Regions from separate parts of the Homo sapiens genome. Here regions 2, 3 and 4 are each linked to region 1. The links are contacts of gene promoters, found by promoter capture Hi-C in human tissues and cell types (Jung and others, 2019). All regions are on one chromosome and are shown on one strand. Each heading gives the region's core, a stretch centred on a gene start or on the middle of the fragment in contact. The rest is flanking DNA. Distances are from core to core; before and after follow the strand shown. Region 1 holds the start of DHDDS (dehydrodolichyl diphosphate synthase subunit). Region 2 overlaps GPN2 (GPN-loop GTPase 2). Region 3 has its middle 18 kb from the start of PDIK1L. Region 4 overlaps ARID1A (AT-rich interaction domain 1A).

Evidence for each region. The method cuts DNA at HindIII sites, captures the fragments that hold promoters and counts their contacts. A contact is called where the count stands out against the background at its distance.
Region 2: a fragment that was not itself captured here is called in contact with the fragment with the promoter of DHDDS in region 1 in 2 of the 25 tissues and cell types used here (dorsolateral prefrontal cortex and spleen).
Region 3: a fragment that was not itself captured here is called in contact with the fragment with the promoter of DHDDS in region 1 in 1 of the 25 tissues and cell types used here (neural progenitor cells).
Region 4: a contact is called between a fragment that was not itself captured here and the fragment with the promoter of DHDDS in region 1, in 1 of the 25 tissues and cell types used here (hippocampus).

What each region holds. Positions count from the first base shown.
Region 1 is chr1:26,430,800-26,433,830 of GRCh38, reverse strand. DHDDS (dehydrodolichyl diphosphate synthase subunit) reads right to left here and starts at 1,510. Exons shown (of 9, transcript NM_205861.3): 1 at 1,455-1,510; 2 at 823-940. The coding sequence starts at 885. LOC124903883 (a long non-coding RNA gene) reads left to right here and starts at 1,594. Exons shown (of 2, transcript XR_007065557.1): 1 at 1,594-1,858; 2 at 2,713-3,031. RefSeq lists enhancers at 1,191-1,680, 1,218-1,754, 1,781-1,840, 1,911-1,970, 1,755-2,291. The HindIII fragment of the contact is 9,291 bases long and covers 1-3,031 here.
Region 2 is chr1:26,881,973-26,885,342 of GRCh38, reverse strand. It overlaps GPN2 (GPN-loop GTPase 2), which reads left to right. Exons shown (of 5, transcript NM_018066.4): 4 at 1,053-1,183. Among named protein-coding and RNA genes, the nearest start is that of GPN2, 6.6 kb to the left of the region's middle. The HindIII fragment of the contact is 7,583 bases long and covers 1-3,370 here.
Region 3 is chr1:26,128,591-26,131,700 of GRCh38, reverse strand. No RefSeq gene overlaps it. Among named protein-coding and RNA genes, the nearest start is that of PDIK1L, 18 kb to the right of the region's middle. RefSeq lists a silencer at 2,749-3,043. The HindIII fragment of the contact is 7,689 bases long and covers 1-3,110 here.
Region 4 is chr1:26,780,408-26,783,671 of GRCh38, reverse strand. ARID1A (AT-rich interaction domain 1A) reads right to left here. Exons shown (of 20, transcript NM_006015.6): 20 at 1,568-3,264. The coding sequence ends at 2,916. Among named protein-coding and RNA genes, the nearest start is that of PIGV, 5.9 kb to the left of the region's middle. The HindIII fragment of the contact is 6,774 bases long and covers 1-3,264 here.

The DNA.
Region 1 (3,031 bases), core at 261-2,760:
TTGGCAGATGAAGGTTGCAGTAAGCCAAGATTGCGCCATTGCACTCCAGCCTGGGCGACAGAGCGAGACTCCATCTCAAAATAAAAAAAAGAACAGGAATTTCACCCATGTTTGTCTGCGTCTAGAGCCCAAACTCTTTTTTTTTTTTTTTTTTTGAGACAGAGTCTTGTTCTGAACTCTTTTTTTTGAGACAGTCCCGTTCTGTCACCCAGGCTGGAGTGTGGTGGCACAATCATGACTCACTGCAGCTTTGACCTGGGCTCAAGAAATTCTCCCACTTCAGCCTTCCGAGTAGCTGGGACTACAGGTGCACACCACCAAGCCCTGCTATTTTTTTAATTTTTTGGAGAATCGGGGTTTTGCCATGTTGCCCAGGCTGGTCTCAACTCCTGAGCTCAAACAATCTGCCCACCTCAGCCTCCCAAATTGCTGGGATTACAGGCGTGAGTGACCGGGCCCAGCTCTACTGACAGATCAAAGAATATATCAAAGATTAACCTATTTAAATCAAGAAGACAGTACATGGAACAATGGATCAATGTTCCAGGGAAACAAATTTCAGTTCTCTATAAAGAATACTTAGCAGTCTAGGCTGCCCAGTGACATTAAGAGGCCTGGGCTTCCAGAAAATATCAGAGTTAGGACAAAAGTCTACCAGAAATGTAGACCTGGAAGTTACCATTCTAAGACTCTTTGGTTTCCTTGCTAAATTCCACTTAACATCATGAATTGCACTTAACATCATCAACTTTAATAACAGGTTTTTATATAAGATTATCCAACTGACCAGAAGGCCAACCGGTGCTCTGGGCCATTGCTCACCTTTATGATGTTGGCACAGAACCGCTCCCAAAGTGACAGCTCTCCTTCCTTGATCCATGACATAGTTCTTTTCCAGTCAGAAGATCACTCCAGAACAAGCAAACACCAGCCAGGTAATCTTGGATAAACAAGAAAGAAAATAAGAAGTCACCAAGGTTTGCGAAGAGCTATAACTGACTTCTGGGGAATCAGATGGACTATGGAGAGCAGCCAGCATTAGAATCCAAAGACACTGGTCTAAGCCTATAATCTTTTACCACCCAGAGTTTTATAACGCAATGTGACCTCTGGAGGCAAAAGCCTTTCCTCGGTTCTCCTGGCTTTGCAGACTTCTTCCCATTCCCATTTCCTCCGTATCTGCACTGACTTCTTCTGAACATCTAAGTCGGTTTCCTGCCACATCATGGTGCCCACATCTTGATCATTCCCCGTTTCTTCCTTCTCCATCTTCCCCTAAGCTGTTTCCAACTCTGTGCTCCCAGTTACTAACTCCTTCAGTTATCGCACGCCTAGTACTTCACGCCTCAGTGGTCTCCTGATTATTCCCTCAGTCGTCCCTTTGCTTCTCCCGCAGCTGCTCCCCGCCCAGTCACCCTCTTCTCCTCTAGTTCACCCCTTCAGTTCAGTGGCACCTGATTAGCTCCGCTGGGCGCGTCCCCACGGCTTCAGTGGGCCGGCACTTCCTCATGACGTGGCGCTGGCAGAACACGTCATCTTTGGGCGCTGCGACACGCCCCTTCCGTCACCCAAACTGAGGGGACCCTGCCCTGCGCCTGCGCCTGCGAGCTAGTGGGAGGGCGGTTCTCAGTCCCGCGGGGTGTGGAAGCCGGCGCGGGTGAGAGCCAGGCTCACGTGACCGAGCGGGGCGGGAGGCTGGGCTCCAGGCCACGTGCTGGGAGACCAGCTGGGGAAGACAGGGTTGAGCCCAGCGTTGGGAGCGGAGGCGTCTGGAAAACGCGCCAGGGAAATGAGCCAGGGGCAAGAATCGAGGCGCTTCTCGGCCGTCGAAGGCAGCTTAGGACTGCTGAGAGACTGGGTAAGGCAGCGTCCTTACCTTGGAATGCCGCAGAACCGGGCTTCATTAGAGCACTGGTGCATACTCTTAAAAATTATCTCGTTACCGTTTCGTATTTTATTTAGTGGATTTAATCGTCTGGGAAGGAGTTTCTAGCCGCAGCCAATCTTACAGACGCGCAGAATATTAATCTATTTTGTGCCGACTTAAGGCACGCATATTTTAGGATTTGTGGATTCCCAAGACCTATCCCAACGAACTCAAGAGAAGGGGTAAGGCCAGAAAGATTTCTGCCATAAGAATGACTTCTAGGCCAGGCGCGGTGGCTCACGCCTGTAATCCCAGCACTTTGGGAGGCCGAGGCGAACGGATCACCTGAGGTCAGGAGTTTGAGACCAGCCTGACCAACATCGTGAAACCCCGTCTGTACTAAAAATACAGAAAATGAGCCGGGCGTGGTGGCGGGCGCCTGTTATCCCAGTTACTCGGGAGGGTGAGGCAAGAGAATCGCTTGAACCCGGGAGGCGGAGGTTGCGGTGAGCCAAGATCAGGCCACTGCACTCCAGCCTGGGCAACAGGAGCGAAACTCTGTCTGAAAAAAGAAAAAAAAAAAAAGCATGACTTCTAAAATAACAGAAAGGTGCTCGCTTTGGCAGTACATAAATGAAAATAACAGAAATTAACCCTGGTAGAAAAGTTAAGGGCATTAGCTCTACTGAACCTTTACGAAAAAAAGGGTTGCAAGAATTCTAGGCTCACAAAACAAATTTGTAGTTCAATTTTCTCAAAATTGAAAGAGGAGGAAAAAATTCTTTACAGATTCTTATACAACCAGTATTATTTTTATTTATTTATTTATTTATTTATTTATTTAGAGACGGAGTCTGGCTATGTCGCCCAGGCTGGAGTGCAGTGGCGCGATCTCGGCTCACTGCAGCCTCCGCCTCCCGGGTTCAAGCGTTTCTCCTGCTTCATCCTCCTGAGTAGCTGGGACTACAGGCGCGTGCCACCAAGCCTGGCTAATTTTTGTATTTTTAGTAGAGACAGGGTTTCACCATTTTGGCCAGGATGGTTTTGATCTCTTGACCTCGTTATCTGCCTGCCTAGACCTTCCAAAGTGCTGGAATTACAGGCGTGAGCCACCGCGCCCGGCCACAACCAGTATTTCTTGCAAAGCATAATACAACTTTATGT
Region 2 (3,370 bases), core at 324-2,823, 450 kb before region 1:
TGGGCAACTGTCTGTTGACTTTGCAAAGTGGTACCCAACCCCTGTGCCTCTCACCTTTACCCTGCAGAGATAACCTGGGAGACGCAGGTGCATGTTAGATTCCTTTCTGCAGTGGGTGGACTTGAGCTAACTTGTCTCCTCCCTTCTAATGCCACACTCTTCTGATATGAGGAGATGAACTCTATAATATCAATCACAACAATTACCTCTTATTTATGGCTTTCTGTGCTGGGCACTGTGCTAAGGACTACACATACATAATTTTGCTTTGTCCTTCCCACCATGTGATATATGGACTGTTCTTATCACTGTATGTGGATGAGGAAACAGTTATAGTTTTTTTTTGTTTTGTTTTGTTTTTTGTGACGGAGTCTCACTCTGTCACCCAGGCTGGAGTGCAGTGCGTTATCTTGGCTCACTGCAACCTCTGCCTCCTGGGTTCAACCGATTCTCCTGCCTCAGCTTCCCAAGTAACTGGGATTACAGGCATCCATCACCATGCCCAACTAATTTTTGTATTTTCAGTAGAGACAGGGTTTCACCATGTTGGCCAGGCTGCTCTTGAACTCCTGACCTTAAGTGATCTACCTGCCTTGGCCTCCCAAAGTGCTGGGCTTTACAGGTGTGAACCACCGTGCCTGGCCCAGTTATAGATTTAAAACATGCATATTCATTGGATGTCTACTTAAGAGAAGTACTGTGCCAGGCACTGGGAATACTGCGACAGATGACCTGGCCCTAAGGGGTGTTTAGTTGAGTAGGGGAGGCAGGTGAGTTAATAGGCGTTTATTACATGGCAGGGATACCATGTACAATAGGTGTAAACCCAGGGGACTGTGGATATGCATAGGGGAGCTTATCTGTTCTAATCTGAGTGAGTTGGTGGTCAGGAAACATGAGATTTATCCAGCCTTTGGGGACATGTAGAACTACTCCAGGCCAAGAAAGCTACAGGTACAGAGGCAAGATGGAGGAAGGTGTATTTAGAGATTGCAAGCAGTTTTACATACTTCTGTTTCACTCACAGAACTGTTTCTCTCCTCCCTGCTCAGGACAAGGAGAGCATCCAGCGAGTCCTGCAGGCTGTGGATAAAGCCAATGGATACTGTTTCAGAGCCCAAGAGCAGCGAAGCTTGGAAGCCATGATGTCTGCCGCAATGGGAGCCGACTTCCATTTCTCTTCGTATCCTTGCCAGCTTCCTGGCCATAGCAGAGAGGGTGAGACATGGGACTCAAGAATGGCCACAGGAGGTGCAGTCATCAACCTTGTGGATGACCAATTTCTTTTTTTTTTTTTTTTTTTGAGATGGAGTCTTGCTCTGTCGCCCAGGCTGGAGTGCAGTGGCACGATCTCAGCTCACTGCAAGCTCTGCCTCCCGGGTTCACGCCACTCTCCTGCCCCAGCCTCCTGAGTAGCTGGGACTACAGCCACCCACCACCACGCCCAGCTAATTTTTTGTATTTTTAGTAGAGACGGGGTTTCACTGTGTTGGCCAGGATGGTCTTGATCTCCTGACCTTGTGATCCACCCAATTTCTTTTTTCTTTTTTTTTTTTGAAAGGGAGTTTCGCTCTTGTTGCCCAGGCTGGATCGCACAATGGCGCAATCTTGGCTCTGTGTAACCTCTGCCTCCCATATTCAAGCAATTCTCCTGCCTCAGCCTCCCAAGTAGCTGGTATTAGTGTGCGCCACTGTGCCCAGTTAGTTTTTATATTTTTAGTAGAGACGGGGTTTCACCATGTTGGCCAGGCTGGTCTGGAACTCTTGACCTCAGGTGATCCACCTGCCTCAGCCTCCCAAAGTGCTGGGATTACAGGCATGAGCCACTGCGCCCGGCCGTGGATGACTGATTTCATATTGATCAGTTGGGCTTCCTGATGACTGTCTCTCATGTGCAAAGGTGGTCCCTTGGCTTCAGAGTTGGTTGTACTGAGGACAAGAGAGGATATTGATCAATAGGAGTAACAAATACAGAGGCCCAGAAATGAGAGGGCATTAGTCATTCGGGAGAGATGCAGGAGTCCAGTTCCTGGTGTGTTGCATGTGAAGAGGAAAGGGCGTTGCAGGGGTACAGGCAGGGCTGCCGAGGGAGGGGCCTGAGTGCCCTACTAAGGAATGTGGACTTCAGTTCATGGGTGGGCAGTGGGAGCAAGTATTCAAGCAGTACTGTTGAACAGGGTGTGACACAATCAGATGTACATTTTAGAAAAGCCCCTGCAATTGTGGAAAATGCATTTAAGGGACGTGATTGGGGGCAAAAGAGTTTTACAGTCTTGCTAGGTGAGAAGGGTTGAAAGATTTGTAGTGAGAATAGAAAGAAAGGTGTAGAATGGAAAAATACTAAGGAGATAGACTGTAAGAGTCAGTGACTGAATGGGATAGATGGAGCTGGAGTAGAACTTAGCTTCCCAGATCTCTGGCTTAGACGGTGGGTGGTTGTACTAATCACTGAGGCAGGAAAAGGAGGAGGGAGCAGGTTTGTCACATGGATGAAAGGGACAAGAGCTGGCAGATGTGCTGTGTTCAGGGGTCCATGGGACATCCAGAGCTGTCCAAGAGGCAGCCAGACTTTTGGAGCTTGGTTAGTGACTAATGAGGCTGGAGCCAAGGTCATGGGTAGGTGTCCATCAGGTCACAGAGGCCATGCGTGAAGCAGGACAGAAAAGTCCAGGCCCTCTAGGCTGATGCTCTCACAGATTCAGCATCTATGCAGCATGCTGGAGACAAGGGGGACTCAGGAGTCTTAGGGTATAGAGGAAAATAATTCCAGCCAACACTTACTGATGTTTCTCGAGCCATATGTGGGAAACAAAGCTCATGGGGTCGGGGTTGGAGGAATGACTTATAAATGATGGCAGTAGAGTGTGCAGTCCCTGATGAAGGTACTAAGGAGCTGCGTCACACCTGCAGTTAATGTAGGCCAATTGGACTGCATGTGCTCAGCAAAAGAGGGGAGGAGCAATTTTTTTTTTAAATTTAAGATGGACTTTCTTTTGCTGTTGTTGCCCAGGCTGGAATGCAATCTCCAACTCCAGGGTTCAAGTGATTCTCCTCCCTCAGCCTCCTAAGTAGCTGGGATTACAGGCATGCTCCACCACACCTGGCCCTTTTTTTTTTTTTTTTTTGAGACGGACCGTCAATCTTGTTGCCCCAGTTGGAGTGCAATGGTGCAATCTCAGCTCACTGCAACCTCCATCTCCCACGTTCAAGCAATTCTCCTGCCTCAGCCTCCCGAGTAAGTGGGATAATAGGCGCCCGCCACCACGCTCAGCTAATTTTTTGTATTTTTAGTAGAGACAGCGTTTTACCATGTTGGCCAGGCTGGTTTCGAACTCCTGAACTCAGGTGATCCACCTGCCTTGGCCTCCCA
Region 3 (3,110 bases), core at 279-2,778, 300 kb after region 1:
TCCCTGTCATAGTCCCATTACATGTAGGTTATACCTTTTATAGTTGGCCGACAATTATTTGATATTCCGTTCTTTAAAAAAATTTTTTTAGACGTTTTCTCTTTGCTTTTCAGTTTTGGAAGTTTGTTTTGTCATATGTTCAAGCTCAGAAATTCTTTCCTCAGCCATGTCCGGTCTGCTAATGAGCCCATCAAAAGCATTCTTCATCTCTATTACAGAGTTTTTGATTTCTAGCATCTTTTTGACCCTTAGAATTTCCATTTCTCTGCTTACATTATCCATCTGTGTGTGCATATTGTCTACTTTTTCCATTGAAGTCCTTAGCATATTAATCACAATTTAAAAAAAAATCCCTGGCCTGATAGTTCCAGGATTCTTGCCATAACTGACTCAGATTCTGATGATTGTTCAGACTTTTCAAATTGTATTTTTTGCTTTTTAGTATCCCTTGTACTTTTTTGTGAAAGGTGGATGGAATGTACTGGCTAAAGGAACTGCCATAAATAGGCCTTTAGTAATGTAGTAACATTTGGGGATGGTGGGTGTTCTATAATCCTATGATTTGGTCATGGGCTTTTCATAGGTGAGCCTGTGCCCTTGGACTGTGAACTTCACCAGTGCTTCTCTTGGTGAAGTTCCCTTAGGTGGTCAGGATGGCTAGAGGGGGCTGGAATACCCTCAGATAGGTTAGGGTCAGCTGATAAAACCACAACAGATGAGGCTGTGGTAAAATAGTTGCTCCTGAGGGTTGTCCTTGTTAAGAACAGAATGTTCAGGCAGGTTTCAAAATGGTTCCTTTCCCCCTCCCGTTAGCAGAAGAATGAGCACCTGTGAGGATCTGGCAGAGCTCCTGGAGGTAATAGTGTGGGGAGCCTCCTGTGATTGGGTCCCCCTGGGCTTTTTAACTCTCAGAGTTGACCATACTAAGCAATTCATCAATTACAGTTTAGGTTTTCCTACCCCTGCACCTTTTCCACACTAGTAAATTGTGATATTCTGTATCTACCAATGCATCTCTCCAATTACAGGGGCAGCAGTTTGCCCTGTGACCTCACTGCTCTGACATATCTAAGAAGAGTGGTTGATTTTTCCATGTGTTCAGCTTTTTAATTGTTGTTAGGATGGAGTGGTGACTTTTAGGCTCCTTTTGTGCCAAACCAGAAATTAGAAGTCCTAATTTTTTTTTTTTTTTTTTGAGTTGGGGTTTTGCTTTGTCTCCAGGCTGGAGTGCAGTGGTGCGATCTCGGCTCACTGCAGCCTCCAACTCCTGGGCTCAAGTGCTCCTCCCGCCTCAGCCTCCTGAATAGCTGGGACTACAGGCATGTGCCACCACACCAGAACCCCCAGCTAATTCCTTTTTTTTTTTTTCCCGGTAAAGATGAGGTCTCATTATGTTGCCCAGGCTGGTCTTGAACTTCTGGACTTAAGCAATCCTCTTGCCTTGGCCTTCCGAAGTGCTAGGATCACAGGCATGAGCCACTGTACCTGGCCCATTTCTAATATTTTTAATTGGCTGGCAGACATTTTGAATTTTATATTGTTGAGAAGTGGAATTTTTGGACTCAAGTATTTTTGAGCTTTGTTCTAGCACATTATGTTACTTAGAAAAAAATGTATTTTGTTAAATAAAATGTATAGGAGACCATTATTTTGGACTAGCCTCGTACACTAGCACTAGCAGACCGAGCCAAATCAGAATGGAGTCACTCATGCTGGGTGCCACATAATTAAACTGAACTCTGAAACAGGCCAGTCCACCCCCCACCCCGCTACCAAAAAAATACCCCCAGGAGATTCGCAGCAACCAATCAAAAGGGGCCCAGTTTACCTGAGCTGGCATGAAAATGAAGTTCCCTCTGTTTTTGTTGTTGTTGTTGTTTTTAATTTTTAAATTTTAATCTTTTTATTTATTTAGAGACTGGTTCATTTTTGCTAAATTGCTTGTCTTTCCGAGTTTCATAGCAGAGTTTTTGGTCTGTTTAAATTCATTATAAATAGACATTTAGGATGTCAGCTTCTGACCTCATGGACTGTGAGCTTACAAGTCCCCTGGTCTGTCACAGGCCATGCATATGAGGAATAAAAAATCAAAACATTTAAGTAATTTTGTTATAAAGAAATATAGTTATGCACCCCAAACACAGAAAACATTTCATTAAAAATTGGTCTTAGTCCTGCTGGGCGTGCCAGTGATTCTTTTAGGTTTGGACCTTGACTGAGAGAATTTCCAGTCGCTCTCTCCTCTCTGGGCAGAAGTTCCAGATCCTCTCTGGGCAGAAGTTCCAGATGATCTGATGGGCAGGGACTTAGGCTGTGTCCCCTGGGGGCTCTGGTCCACTAGTTGTTGGGACCGCCTGGGAGGGCGCAGCAACCCACTACGCCTGTGTCTGTTTTAACTCTATAAGGAAAGTAACTTTGAAACAACCAGACAATTTTCTGTTCTCTGTTTCTGCTTTTCTCAGGCCTTTTCTGTCTATAAAACCATACTTTTCTGCTTGGCTTATCGGAATACTCACTGTATTTTATAGAATAAGGTGTTGCCTTTTTCTAGAATCACAAAGAAAAGCCAATATAGATCTTTAAATCAAATTTGCTATAATTTTGTCTGTGTACCTTTCAAGACTTACTTTTAAGCTTGGATAGACAGGTCCAGAATAGCTGTTAGCCTTGGCCTCACTACTGAGACAATACTCTTCTGTGATGCTCTGTATATTGGAAGAAGGTCTTTCTGTTCTGGCTGGTGGAAATATCAATTATTCTTGGTCCTGTGTGAGCTCCAGGATTGTTCTGCCTAATCCTTTCAGGGGATCTTTCCTGCATTCAGGTCTGATAGTTTCTTCATAAGCATGACTGATTAGTACTTAGCTGATACTGTGTGTGTGAATGTGAGTGTGTGAGTGTGTGTGTGTGTGTGAGAGAGAGAGAGAGAGAGAGTGTGTGTGTGAGTGTGTATGTTTTCTTTAAGGCAGGTCTTGCTCTGCCGCCCAGGGTGGAGTGCAGCGTGGTGATTCCAGCTCACTGCAGCCTTGACTTTCCTGGGTTCAGGTGATTCTCCCAACTCAGCCTCCAAGTAGCTGGGACTATAGGCAAACACCATCACACCTGGATAA
Region 4 (3,264 bases), core at 58-2,557, 350 kb before region 1:
AAAACAAATCTTGCTTGCTGAGCTCCACAGCTAGATCCCTTACTCCTGGGTTGGGTTCTCATCCAGAAAGGAGGTAGTGTGGTATATTAAGAAAAGCATGATCCTTGGAGTCAGGTGGAACTTGCTTGGTGTATGAACTTAAAAAGCCTTTCACTTTTCTTAGCCTCTTTCTTCAACTGTAAAATGGGAGCCACATACTGACTTCACAGGCACAGGATTGTTGTAGGATTGTGATGTGCTATGTCCAGAATATAAGTAGGTACACAATAGAAAACTGTTGTTTCTTGTTTCAAATTTCACTTCTAAGTGTCCACAATGATAGCATTTTTTCTCTTTCTGCTTCTGATTTCTCCTGAGGAACTTGAGGCTTCTCTATTGTTTCCCTAAGGAAGGGGGTGAACAGAGAAACTATATATTGTGACATTAGCCTCATAAAAGCAACTGCATCTAGCCAACATCGACAGTATCATTCAACTACTACTTAAGTAGATGCTATGTGCCAGTCTATGTGTTAGCACCAGGATGCAGCAGTGAACAAAACACCCCTCCCACCACCCTCAGTTTACATTTCAGTGGAAGGTGACAGGTAAGTACAACACACAACAGGCCAGACAGTAACAAGTGCCACAGGAAAAATAAGGCAGACAAGGGAAACATAGTGGGGGGCAGAGATTGCTATTCTAAGTAAGGTGACCATGAAAAGCCTTACTTATATATTTGGACAAAGACTTGAAGCAGTCGAGGACTTGAGCCATGCAGTTATTTGGTGAGAGAGTATAAAGTACAAAGACTCCAAGGTGGAAACATCTCTATACAGTGGGGTGAGCAACGGGCAAGACAGATGGTGCAGGAAAGGTAGAGGTAAGCTAGATAACTCAGGGCCTTGTAGGCCACTTTTTAAGAGTCTGGATTTTTACTTACTGAGTCAGAAGCACTGAAGGCGTTTGATCTGACTTACCTTTTATAGGGGTCCTTTTGGTTGCTCTGTTGAGAATAGGTTCAACCAGGCAAAGCAGAAGCAGGGAGGCCAATTTGGAGGTATTTCAAGAATCCAAGATATGACAGTATCTTGAACTACAGTAGTGTGGGATTGAGGATTATTTTATGAAGAGTGCTAACAGATTGGATGTGGAAGTGAAAGAAGTCAAGGATTTTTTTAGCCAAGTGATAGAATGGAGTTGCCATTTACTAAAAGGAAAACACAAACAAAAAAACCAAAACTATGGGAGAAGCAGGTTTCTAGTGGGGGAAGACAGGACATTTTAGCTTTGGCATGTTCAAAGTAAACTTCCAAGCAGGGATGACAAGAAAGGTGGCTGAATGCTCTAGTCTGGAGTCAGGGAAAAGAGCCAGTCCAGAGATATTATAAGTGATTAAGTTGGAGATTGCCTCCAGATAAATGGTTGTCTTATTTTGGAATATAGTAAATAAATGACAGGGTCCAGGAATGCCACTATTTAGGGGAGATCTCACACTAAGGGAGGTTTGCAAAAACAGGACTATCCCCCTGCCCCCCGACAAAAGGTCAAGTTTTAGTTTGAAAACAATAAAAAGCTTCACAAAAGTCTTACCAAGATTTAATGTACATTTATTCTTAACACGTGGAACATATAGTATAAAGATTTCATACTGAATAAATGATATTCATTAAGCCAAAAAAGGAAAAAAAGGAGGAATTTACATCAAGTTTTAGCTACATTGTTGAAATACAAATATGCAGATTTTATCACTGAAAAAATCTCAATTGTGTTTCTTCATCAGAACTTCAACTGAACCTAGAACTTTTTCACACCTCGATTAGAAAGAAAACAAAACAAAACAAAAACCCAGAAAAAAATAAACTATAAGTTGATTGGCTGCTGAGACAGCAAGGACTTTTTACAGAGACCTGTACAGCATCGCACCAAGAGGGGCGATATCTGGCAAGAGATTAAATAGCTGTGTCTCGCTTTGTGCAGGTCACCAACTTGTTAACTCGTCATACTATAAAGGGGTAGCTGGGAGGAGGACCAAACTGTGGGGATCCAAGGGTATGTGCAATGTACAACGTCATATATATACACACGTGGCAGCGTAGCCGCTGCAGCTAAAGGTTAAAACCAGTTCTAAGAGGTGATCTCAGGGTTATTCATACAATCAAGGAGGAGAGAAAGAGGTCAGGGTGTTGTAGGTTCACACATGATACTTTGGGGGAAAAGCCTTTTTTTTTTTTCTCCTCAACGTTTAACTAAAAACATTTTTAAAAACTACAGCTTGCTGCTGACCCAGCGTTTTCTGTTTCCATGTGAGACATTATTATTACAGTATGTTTACAGTATCAGGTGTACAGTACAGTACATGAAAGGGTCTACACTCTACTGCACAGGCCTCTCCAGTGAACAGGGTCTGTTCACAACTGCGAACTTCTTGGCTCCTGCAAGATTGTGAATGTACAACAATAAACCACACACAGTTCAGCAGTCACCTTTTTTGTCCTTCAGAATTTTTTTTTGTATTTTTTTTTTTTTTTTTTACCATTAAAAACAGTTATGAAATGTGGCATCCCGTTGATGCAAGGACTGGGAAAGCCATTTTTATTTTATTTTTTTTCCCCAAACTCACTGTAAACAACAGTAACTTTGGTTAAAATAAAAAAAGTCTTCTATGTAGGCAGAGCTTTGTCTTTTCAAAGAGGGTGGGGTAGGGTCCTGAGGGGAGTAAGGTGAGGACAAGGAACAGAAAGGCGTGAGGTGATGGAGGGAGGGGAGGTGGAAGGAGGAGAGAGAAACAGGAGAGACTTTTTCCCAAGGGAGAAGCTGGACAGCACAGGGTAAACTGGATTCTGAGGTGGTTTTGCATAAATAAAGGGCAACAGTCAGTTTCTAAGTTCTCCACACACGCACACACACACGGGGGGGGGAGGTGTCCCACGGCTGTCATGACTGGCCAATCAAAAACAGTACATCACAAATGACTTGTGAAACCAATGAGTTCATCAACGGTGATACCGAGATGTCCAACAGCCGTGATTCGTACAGAGTAAACTCTGAGTGGTTCTCGTCCACCTTGGCCAAGGCAAGCAGCGCGCGGGCAGCCCGCCGCATCATGTCCACACTAGTTGGCTCAAAGGGTGGGTTCTGCATGTGGAGGAGGCTGGCCTGGCTCTGCTGGAACTGTGTGGCGGCAAGGCTGTCCTCTAGGAAGCCCAGGAGGTTGCCGATACTGCCCTTCTGCACTGCAATGGCACGAGCTGCCAGGCTGTCCCCCTGAGCCAGGTTGGCCAGC